Linked DNA regions of Homo sapiens: all the other regions are linked to region 1. Evidence: promoter capture Hi-C in 16 types of primary human blood cells and fetal thymus (Javierre and others, 2016). All regions are on one chromosome and are shown on one strand. Each heading gives the region's core, a stretch centred on a gene start or on the middle of the fragment in contact. The rest is flanking DNA. Distances are from core to core; before and after follow the strand shown. Region 1 holds the start of CHRNA9 (cholinergic receptor nicotinic alpha 9 subunit). Region 2 overlaps N4BP2 (NEDD4 binding protein 2). Region 3 overlaps N4BP2 (NEDD4 binding protein 2). Region 4 has its middle 34 kb from the start of RHOH.

Region 1 (2,700 bases), core at 132-2,631:
TAAACTCAATTTCAAAATTACCTTCTGCCTCTGAGATTCTGGAGCGGATGGTTTGCTGAAGGAGGACTGAGCGTGGGCACCCGGAATTGTGTCATTTGATGAATGAGTCAGACTAGGGGCGTCAGAAAAATAATGTCTTCACAATCAACACAATGGGATAGGCAATTAAGAAACACTTTGCCGATGGCTTGAGTGTCTGTTCCACTCAGAGGATACATTCCCGAAGAGGGATGGGGTGACTCATCAGGCGGCTGTAACCTGATGAAACAGAGCTATCCAATTTCCTCGCTCCAATTCCAGGCAACCAAATTATCTTAATATGGTTTTCCAAAGCAGTTTCCCCAGGCAAGAGGAGAGACAGACATGAGTTTCCAGACTAAGCAGCAATTGAAAATTGACATTTTTTTATAGGAGTAAAATTATATCACATATGAGAAATGACTGAAACTTTATATGAAGTAGCATTCAAATGCAAAGGGTGTCATCATTAGCAATATCACCATTGGTTATTATTCTCATGCTGATTTGGTCAGCCTTTGAACCAGTTTTTCTTTTTTTTTTTCGAGCTGGTAAATCCTGGGTGACTTGGTGAGTATAGAAATTCTGGGTATGCAAAGCTGATCAAAGATGATAATTACTGATATTTAGAAAGTGCTTTCACATACAGTTATCTCAGTAGCTCTAGAGAGAGAAAATATTATTTTCCCCAGTCTGTAGTTCTGGAAGGCTCAGAGAGGTTAGGTGACTTTTACAGAATAATAGAGCTCGTCAGGGTTTGGCTGGCAGTCAAACCCAGGTGGTCAAGTCCAAATCCAACTCACAGTGTTGCTGCTTCTTAAGCGAGTGATTATCCGCCCATCCAGCACACCCCCTCACATATATACTCACAAACATTTACTATGCAAGATCCATGCCCAGTGGGACAGCTGCAGGAGGGATCAGAAGCTGAGGCAGAGAAAAAACCAAAATGCCAATATATTCTGGAGATCATAGAACCGTGTCTCTTTCCCTCTTCAAATGCTGCTAAAAGCACGTAGAGTCTTTCTGGACAGCCGTCCCATGGCTCAGTCTTTTAGGCTTCCCTTAGTCCCTGGACTCAGGCTGACTCTGCTCATGGTGGGTGTAGAAATCTCCCATTCTGCTTAGATGGAGTCTCTGGGGTGTCAGGCATACCCCTGTTGCCTGCATCTACCTCCTTTTCTGTCTGGTTGTTTCTGCTGAGGGTGGCTAGGGACCCTCAACTGAGATGGCCCCCCACAACAGCACTGTTGGACCTAACACACCCTGGGTTCCCGGCTTCTCAGCCACTGGAGCTGCCAGTCTCAAATTACCGGAGGGGAGGGAGGGCAGGCCTGGATCTCAGGATCTCGGTCCTGCATGCAATGCAAGCCTGAGCTCTCCCGCCATAAGGCTGCAGCGGTGTGGGCTCCTTGTGCCCAGATCCTTTGTATTCATAGGGGGAAGTGGAAGACCACGCTGCCTGACTGAGACTTTATTATAGAGGCTCAGGAAAAAGATGAACTGGTCCCATTCCTGCATCTCCTTTTGCTGGATCTACTTTGCTGCTTCCAGACTGAGAGGTGAGAGGCTGGTGACACGTAACCTATCTTGTCTCATCTGGGGCTATTGCTTTGGTGGGAGGTGGGGCAGGACAGGGAAGACAAAACAGATGATTCAACCGCATGGAAGTGTTCTGTGCTTCCTACTGACTCTGATCTTGGTAGGGCATGCCAGAAAAACAACTCATCCATCCACCCAAAGCTTGTCCCTCGCCAGTGTTGGGCCATCCCCCATTTTAGACCTCAGTCTTGTGTTGTTTGTCTTGAAATACACACAACACTCTGAATGTTAATCCAGATCCCTCTTGTTGAGTAGCTGCAGAGACGGCAGATGGAAAATATGCTCAGAAGTTGTTTAATGACCTTTTTGAAGATTATTCTAATGCTCTTCGTCCAGTGGAAGATACAGATAAAGTCCTGAATGTGACCCTGCAGATTACGCTCTCTCAGATTAAGGATATGGTGAGTAACACATGGTGCTGACTCTGTGGAATGATTCTTAGAGGATAAACAACCATGCTTTCTGAAGAGAATGTCTTAACTGGGAATTTGAGAGGGAATGATAGCTCCTTAAGCAAGCTGGTGGGAGAAGAGAATGTCGGGAAAAGGAAGCTTTCTACAAAACTAATTAATTTCAAGAAACGTTACCTAATCCTGGTCATTAACTGTAACAGTCTTAGATAATCTAAAGAAAGATGGGGTTACATACTGTATGCAGCCATTTATATAAAATGTCCAAAAGAGGTAAATCCGTAGAGACAGAAAACGGCATAGAGGTTGCCGGGGTCTGTGGGGAGGACGGGGAAAACGGCCAGTGAGTTCTTAATGATTACGGCGTTTCTTTGCGGGGGGAAGAAATGATCTTGAATTAGGCAGTGGTGATGGTTGCACAACGTTGTGAATATATTGGAAGCCGGTGCATTGTTCCCTTCGAAAATGATTAAAATGGTGAGTTTTAATGTGAATTTGATCTTAATTTTTTTTTTGAGACGGAGTCTTGCTGTCACCCAGGCTGGAGTGCAGTGGCATGATCTCCGCTCACTGTAAGCTCTGCCTCCTGGGTTCACACCATTCTCCTGCCTCAGCCTCCTGAGTAGCTGAGACTACAGGCACCCGCCACCACACCCGGCTAATTTTTTTT
Region 2 (2,700 bases), core at 4-2,503, 210 kb before region 1:
TTTCTAATGTCTTAATGTTGAAATTTGGTGTGTGTGTTTGAATTTTAACTCATTCTAAATTACTTCCACAAAATACGGTACCCACAAATTTTGATTTGCAAATAAAAGTTTTATTTATTTATTTATTTATTTTTTTATTTAGAGATGGAGTCTTGCTCTGTCGCCCAGGCTAGAGTGCAGTGGTGCCATTTTGCCTTACTGCAACCTCTGCCTCCTGGGTTCAAGCAATTCTCCTGCCTCAGCCTCCCAAGTAGCTGGGACTACAGGTGCGCACCACCACACCTGGCTAATTTTTGTATTTTTAGTAGAGACGGGGTTTCACCATATTGGTCAGGCTGGTCTTGAACTCCTGACCTCAGGTGATCTGCCCACCTTGGCCTCCCAAAGTCCTGGGGTTACAGGCATGAGCCACTGCGCCCAGCCAGTTCTTTAAAAATATTTAATATTTTATTGATATGAAATAAAATAAAACTTAAAGGGGGAAAAAGCCCCTATAATGTATATTGAACTTTCATGAGTGCTGTGGAACACCTAGGGTATGCTCTCAAAGCATTTCCTGTTGAGGTTTTGCTCTGCATGAAAGAAAACTTTTGGTTTGAGAGCAACAGAGTGTTCATGTGTTTGATCAAGAACATCATTGAAATATTACTTGGTTATTCAAAGTTTTTATTGATGTCAGTATTGTTAGACCACAAAACCCAGCCTGCTTTTTGGTACATCCTGCCAACTTGAAAATATTTGATTCCAGATGACTTCTCTTAGATAGTGTTGTCTTCAGTGACTGTTGCAGGGTGGCAGACCTGTTATTAAGCATCCTCCTTTTGTGCCTGAGTTCCTCCACATGCCTCTGTTGTCCAGTCCACACTGGGACCAAGGCAAGGAGTTTCACCTTGAAGATTCTTAGGATCCACTTTGGTCCAGACCTGTGCTCATGTCATAGCCTCAAGAGCTACAGCTGATGTAGGGATAGAGGTGCCCAAAGGATGGTGTGCAAATGCCAGTGTCTATTGTTTCTTCACTCTCTAGGACAGCAGAGGAATGTATCAGAATGTGTTGATACTCCTCTGAGAAGTTGAAATGTTACACATTAAATTCTGTTGTTGTGAACTTCCTAGAATGTTCAGTTCCTTATTTTGAATATCATTTGCCCACTCTTTATTGTGTGCCTTCACTGAGTTACAGGTTTGCCAAAGTAATCGATCTTCTTGGTCCTTAGAATGGGTGGCCAGAGCAGACTGTAGCTGTTATGGTTGCTCACTTCCAGCTGGCTACAACTTCCTCTATTTACCAGTGTCCTGTATACATGTCACTATGTTTTGGGTTGATATGATATGAAAAAGAGTGGGAAGCATTGAGTCAGTTTAAAATTATACACAGCCTGGCCGGGTGCGGTGGCTCACGCCTGTAATCCCAGCACGTTGGGAGGCCAAGGCGGGCGGATCACCTGAGGTCAGGAGTTCAAGACCAGCCTGGCCAACATGGTGAAACCCCCGTCTCTACTAAAAATACAAAAACTAGCCAGGCATGGTGGCGGGCGCCTGTAATCCCAGCTACTTCGGAGGCTGAGGCAGGAGAATTGCTTGAACCTGGGAGGCGGAGGTTGCAGTGAGCCGAGACTGCGCCATTGCACTCCAGCCTGGGCGACAGAGCAAGACTCCGTCTCAAAAAAAAAAAAAAAAAAAATTATACACAGATCATTACTCTTTTAAAATATTGCTACATTAACACATACTATTTCTTACTTGCGATGACGTGAAGATGTATTTTACAATTTCAGAGTTGTGTTATATTTACAAACTGAAAATTAAAAAACTGTTTCCTTGGTCTCTGAGGTAAATATAACAGAGTGAATAATGTTTAATTTATACATTTATTGTTGAGAGTATGACAGTATTTATACTACTTTGTAGATCCTTCCTTGGTTGGACATACTGGGCTTGATAATCCTGAACAAAAATCATCTCAGAGAACAGGCAAAAAATTACTGAAGACTTTAACAGCATCTGAAATGCTACCTTTATTGGATCATTGGAATACTCAAACTAAAAAAGTATCACTCAGAGAAATAATGTCAGAAGAAATTGCCTTACAGGAAAAACATAATTTGGTATGAATTAATATAAATATTAAGCTACTGTCTCTGATTCTGGTTTATTGTGTATGTTTACTTTGTGATTTTTTCAAAGTATTTTCTAGTCTAGAATCCATATTTAACCTGATTGAATTTAATGTTAAAATTGAAAAATATTTTAAGTATAATTTGAAGCTGGAGGTTTTTGCTTCAGGGAAATTAGTTAATACTCAACTATAAGCCATCCATGTTAAGTTTGTGTTGTTTTAGATTTAACTGTATAGGTGATTGAGCTGCATCTTTCTTTTTCTTTACCTTTTTTTTTCTTGATACATCGTCTTGGCTCTGTTGCCCACACTAGACTACAGTGGCGTGATCACAGCTCATGGAAGCCTTGACCTCCAGGGCTCAAGTGATCCTCCCACCTCAGCCTCCTGAGTAACAGGGACTACCATGCCTGGGTATTTTTATTTTATTTTTGGAGATGGAGTCTCGCTCTGTTGCCCAGGCTGGAGTACAGTGGTGTAATCTTGGCTCACTGCAACCTCCATCTTTCGGGTTCAAACGATTCTCCTGCCTCAGCCTCCCAAGAATCAGGGACAACAGATGTGTGCCACCATGCCTGGCTA
Region 3 (2,700 bases), core at 80-2,579, 230 kb before region 1:
AGAGATGGGATTTCACCATGTTGGCCAGGCTGGCCTTGAACTCCTGGCCTCAAGTGATCCACAAAATGATAGTACTTGAATAATTTATTTTGTTTATGACTTTGGAAAAATTAGGAGAGAAAATTTAGAAGAAAAGGTAATGAAAATTATTTCATTTATCTTTCACAGGACTTTGCAAGAGGATAATCCAAGTGGAGTCATTCTTAGTACTGATGATTATTTTTATATAAATGGACAGTACCAGTTTGATGTAAAGTACTTAGGAGAAGCACATGAATGGAACCAGAATCGTGGTAAGAACAGATAATCAGATTCTGGGTAACGTTATGAGTAATACAAAGAAAAAATTCACTTAGTATTTGTTTGTGTGTTTGTTTTTGTTTTTTGAGACAGGGTCTCGCTGTGTTGCACAGGCTAGAGTGCAGTGGCATGATCTTGGCTCACTGCAGCCTTGACTTCTGGGTTCAGGTGATCCTCCCACCTTAGCCTCCCAAGTAGCTGGGACCACAGATGTGCCACCATGCCTGGCTAATTTTTGTATTTTTTGTTGTCCAGCCTGGTCTTGAACTCCTGGGCTCAAGCAATCTGCCTCTCTTAGCCTCCCAAAGTGCTGAGTTTGCAGAAGTGAGCCACTGCGCCCAGTTAAATTGGCTTAGTATTTTTTTTTTTTCGAGATGGAGTCTCACTTTGCGCCCAGGCTGTAGTACAGTGGTGCAATCTGGGTTCACTGCAACCTCTGCCTCCTGGGTTCAAGTGATTCTTCTGCCTCAGCTTCCTGAGTAGCTGGGATTACAGGTGCATGCCACCGCACCTGGCTAATTTTTGTATTTTTTATAGAGACGGGGTTTCCCCGTGTTGGCCAGGCTGGTCTCGAACTCCTGACCTTAGGTGGTCCGCCTGCCTTGGCCTCCCAAAGTGCTGAGATTACAGGTGTGAGCCACCGTGCGTGGCCTATAACTGTATAGTATATATAAAATTTTAACTGTCATTAACATTAATTCTTATGTTACATAGTAAGAGGTGAGTTTATTTCATAGGGTGGTTATAAGGATTCAAAGAGTTAATTTTTGTAAGGTACTTAGAATATTGTGTGGCATATTTAAGTTATCAGTAGGGATCTTTTGAGAAGTAAATCTAATTTTCTGCTTGGGTCTCAGAATAGCTGTAAGGAAATTGCAGTTGTTTCCTATGTATCTTTTTTTTTTTTTTTGACACAGTATCTCGCTCTGTTGCCCTGGCTGCAGTGCAGTGGTGTGATCTCGGCTCACTGCAACCTCCGCCTCCCACGTTCAAGGGATTCTCATCCTCAGCCTCCCAGCCTGAGTAGTTGGGACTATAGGTGTGTGATACCATGCCTGGCTAATTTTTGTATTTTTAGTAGCGACGGGGTTTTGCCACATTGGCCAGGGCCAGGCTTGTCTCAAACTCCTGGCCTGAAGTGGTCTGCCTAACTCGGCCTCTGAAAGTCCTGGGATTACAGGTTTGAGCCACCATGCCCAGCCTGGTTACTGCTTTCTAAAATGGAATTTGAACCACCAGAAATGGAATTTGACCAGTTAACCACTGGTTTTCCTTAGATTGGTTTACTCTTTTTTTTTTGAGACGAAGTCTTGCTTTGTTGCCCAGGCTGGAGCGCAGTGGCGTGATCTCGGCTCAGTGCAACCTCTGCCTCCCAGGTTCAAGCGATTCTCCTGCCTCAGCCTCCCCCTGAGTAGCTGGGATTACAGGCACGTGCCACCATGCCTGGCTAATTTTTGTATTTTTAGTAGAGACGGGATTTCACCATGTTGGCCAGGCTGGTCTTGAACACCTGACCTTGTGATTCACCTGCCTCGGCCTCCCAAAGTGCTGGGATTACAGGCATGAGCCACTACGCCTGGCAATTGGTTTACTTTTTATGGAAGATAGTGTGAGAATAAAAACGACTCTCTAAACTGAATCTGTGGGGACATCATAGGTAAAAATTTAGTTTCCTTGCTAGTGTAACTGTCTATTCAGTGAAGATAGTTTTATCATTAAATGTTTATTTGCATAGTTTGAATTTTCTATGGAGAATCTTGTTAAGATATAGGGACTGTATTTTCCTCAGTTTTTTTTTTTTTTGGAGACAGAGTCCTGCTCTGTTGCCAGGCTGGAGTGCGGTGGCGTGATCTTGGCTCACTGCAATGTCTGCCTCCCGGGTTTAAGCGATTCTCCTGCCTCAGCCTCCTGAGTAGCTGGGACTACAGGCATATGCCACCATGCCCAGCTAGTTTTTGTATTTTTAGTAGAGACAGGGTTTCACCATGTTGGCCAGGATGGTCTCGATCTCTTAACTTTGTGATCCACCTATCTCAGCCTCCCGAAGTGCTGGGATTACAGACATGAGCCACCACACCTGGCCCTCAGTCTTTTATGATAAGTGTACTGTAAAGGTGATTCTTGGGTTTGCCATCTTCAGACATTGTTAAATTTTTATATATTCTTTTTTGAACTAAAGATTAAGAATTCAGGAATCTGAAAATGCCAACATAACTAAAACCAAAGGAGGCAGTATGATTTGGTGATGAAGATCACCCTTGGATTCACCAGTTACTAGCTATATGATCTTGTGCAATTTACTTATACTTTCCAAGGCCCAGTGTCCCCTTTGTAAAAGGGAATAATAATACTTAACTCCCAGGATTGTTGTGAAAGTTAAATGAAGGTGAAAAGTGTTAA
Region 4 (2,700 bases), core at 166-2,665, 170 kb before region 1:
ATTCTCAAAGCTGGTGACTAGGCACCAGAAAAGTGTTGTAGAAATAGTCTCCATCATTTGCCTTTTGAACAGAATGAGCCGTACCAGTGGATAGATGGCCTCCACCTTACTTATGCCTCCGAAATCTCACTGGAGTGTATCTAATTGGTAGAAACTATTGTATTCTAATATATATAGAATTTTACCTTCATCAAAGATCTGGGAAATGTTCTTTTAAACTTTACGGAAAGGCTCATTAGAAGTAGAGCTGGGGCTGGGTGTGGTGGCTTATGCCTGTAATCCCAACACTTCTGGGGGCGAAGGCAGGCAGATCACTTGAGGTCAGGAGTTCAAAACCAGCCTGGCCAACATAGTGAAACCCTGTCTCTACTAAAAATACAAAAATTAGCAGGTGTGGTGGCACATGCTTGAAACCAGGAGGTAGAGGTTGCAGTGAGCCAAGATAGTGCCACTGCACTCCAGCCTGGGTGACAGAGTGAGACTCTGTCTCAAAAAAGAAGAAGAAGTAGAGCTGGAGGATGAGTATCAAATGCTCATATTTGCTACACCGATGATACTTGTCCAACCAGGTATAGAAATAAAATGGCTTGACATATTAGTCACAAAAGCATTGCATGTCAACTGGGATATTTAGAGGTATGCCAGGGAGTACCCCAAGTCCAGGATAAGCTTAGGATATATTTCAGGAGCACTGGTTTTACTCAATGGCAAATAATACACATTATTATTTAATGTAGCTTATTGGTGTATGTATTAGGGTTCTCCAGAATGAATAGGAGATAGATAGGGGATTTATCAGGAGAATTGGCTCCTGTAATTTTGGAGGCTGAGAAGTTCACACCAGGCCATCTGCAAGCAGGAGAACTAGGGAAGCCAGTAGCATGGCCAAGTACAAGTCTGAAGGCCACAGAGCCAGGGAAGCTGATGGTATCTTTCAGTTCAAGTGTGAAGTTCTCAAAATCCAAGGGGAGAGGACCCCATGTGGGCCTCTCCAAAGGCTGCTTGAGTGTCCTTACAACATGGTGGCTGGTTTCTCCAGAACAGGTAATCCAAGTGAGCAAAACAGAAACTGCAGTACCTTTTATGACTTAGTATTGGAAGTTTTTTGCAGTTATCTGCCAAATTGTTTGTTAGAACCAAGCCATTAAATTCAGCTAACTTTGAAGCACAGGAGAATTAGCTCTACCTTTTGAAGGATACAATGTCAAAGGATTTGTGTATGTATTTGGAAGCCATTATGTTTACTATGAACTAGGCACCACTGGGTACTTTGCAAATGTACCTAGTATAATCATAACCACCCGCTGGGGTAGGTATTATTGCCCACATGGCCGACATTGTTGTCTTACCCAACAGTTATTCTTTCTATTACAGCTCTTTTTGTTCAGGCATCTGGTGGCAGTGGGCTCAGGGAAGATCAACCCCTCTGTAGCTCCTGCAGGTGAATTTTGATTGGTGGAAAAGCCAATCATGGCAATGCCATTTCCCCTTGCCAGTGATTAGTTGGAGGATGGATATATGATCATACCAACAAGAATTCTGCTAGATTGGTTCTGGGAAAGGTTTTCCTCACGAATACAGAGAAACACATAGGAAGAAATGCATTCTTGTTCAGCAAGACTTTGTGTCTGTATGTGATGTCTGGAATTGCAGTTGCCTTGTTGAAACCATGAAGAGACAAACCTAAGGCCCAAGCCAATGTGCTAAGGATGGTGAGTGTAGAGAAGAAAAACCCTCTGTTCTTGATGATGTCATTGAGCCCCTGAATTAACTAACCCTGGAACTGACCTTTAGTGGCCTTGTTATGAGAGACAATAAGCTGCCTTTGTTTGGGTTTTGTGTTACACCTGGAAGCATCCTAATGATTTGATATACCCCTTTTTACAGACTAGGAAACATGTTCAGAGAGATTATAGAATTTGCGAAATCTTTCCCGGCTATTAATAGCAGAGCCGGGTTTCAGACTGAGATGTCTATGTTCTAAGCACCTGGTCTTTTATCAGTTAAGTGACTTTTCTCCAGCAATTCTCAGGAATCAGAGAGGAGAAACAGAGACATCAGTTGGTTTCAGCAGAGGTAGTGATTGGCGGATAGGTATGGGAAGGGTTCAGTGTGGGAAGGAAAGGAGACAAAATTCACGATGCTGTATGTGTAAGGTTGAAAAGCTTGACTGTGAGATACAGGCTGGTAAGGAGTCAAGTGGAATCCAGAGGGGGCTGATAGACTGGAATAGTGGAGGTGAGCAGTGAAGGTATAGTTGAGGAAAGAACAGATTCAGAAAGTTTGAGGGGGAGGGAAAGTGGAAGGAGGTTGTAGGAAGGAACCTTGAGAACTTCAGAGTTCAGAATATTAGGATGTGGGTATTTGTTCCTAAGGGAGTTTGATTTGTGGCTGAGCATGGAGATGATGGTAGTCGGAGTGGAGAAGGTCACAGAATTGATACCAAATTTCTGGATCATCCACTTTGTGTACATATTACCTAGAAAAGTGACAAGCAGTGCAGTAGAGAGGAAGATTGAAAGCCAGTCTGCTGGAAGTCTGGGTGAAATAAAAATGTTTTCTTTATTTGCGTGGTCTCCATTCTTCACATGGATAGGATCTGACTCAACACAGCCCCATGTTGAAGAAAGAATTATAAGGATTAATCTGTTTTAATCTGCTGCTTTGTCAAGACTGGAGAGACGAGATAGATAGGGTCAC

What was found. The method cuts DNA at HindIII sites, captures the fragments that hold promoters and counts their contacts. A CHiCAGO score of 5 or more calls a contact.
Region 2: a contact is called between a fragment that was not itself captured here and the fragment with the promoter of CHRNA9 in region 1, in 9 of 17 cell types (naive CD8 T cells, total CD8 T cells, total CD4 T cells and 6 more). The highest score is 10.5, in naive CD8 T cells.
Region 3: a fragment that was not itself captured here is called in contact with the fragment with the promoter of CHRNA9 in region 1 in 4 of 17 cell types (naive CD4 T cells, total CD8 T cells, non-activated CD4 T cells and 1 more); the score reaches 5.9 in naive CD4 T cells.
Region 4: a contact is called between a fragment that was not itself captured here and the fragment with the promoter of CHRNA9 in region 1, in 12 of 17 cell types (total CD8 T cells, naive CD8 T cells, activated CD4 T cells and 9 more). The highest score is 11.1, in total CD8 T cells.

Annotation. Positions count from the first base shown.
Region 1 is chr4:40,333,952-40,336,651 of GRCh38, forward strand. CHRNA9 (cholinergic receptor nicotinic alpha 9 subunit) reads left to right here and starts at 1,382. Exons shown (of 5, transcript NM_017581.4): 1 at 1,382-1,580; 2 at 1,876-2,021. The coding sequence starts at 1,517. The HindIII fragment of the contact is 7,151 bases long and covers 1-1,759 here.
Region 2 is chr4:40,124,224-40,126,923 of GRCh38, forward strand. It overlaps N4BP2 (NEDD4 binding protein 2), which reads left to right. Exons shown (of 18, transcript NM_018177.6): 12 at 1,911-2,107. Among named protein-coding and RNA genes, the nearest start is that of N4BP2, 69 kb to the left of the region's middle. The HindIII fragment of the contact is 5,124 bases long and covers 1-2,700 here.
Region 3 is chr4:40,106,732-40,109,431 of GRCh38, forward strand. N4BP2 (NEDD4 binding protein 2) reads left to right here. Exons shown (of 18, transcript NM_018177.6): 5 at 169-293. Among named protein-coding and RNA genes, the nearest start is that of N4BP2, 51 kb to the left of the region's middle. The HindIII fragment of the contact is 4,124 bases long and covers 1-2,700 here.
Region 4 is chr4:40,161,969-40,164,668 of GRCh38, forward strand. It overlaps a transcript of N4BP2 not described here. Among named protein-coding and RNA genes, the nearest start is that of RHOH, 34 kb to the right of the region's middle. The HindIII fragment of the contact is 1,496 bases long and covers 668-2,163 here.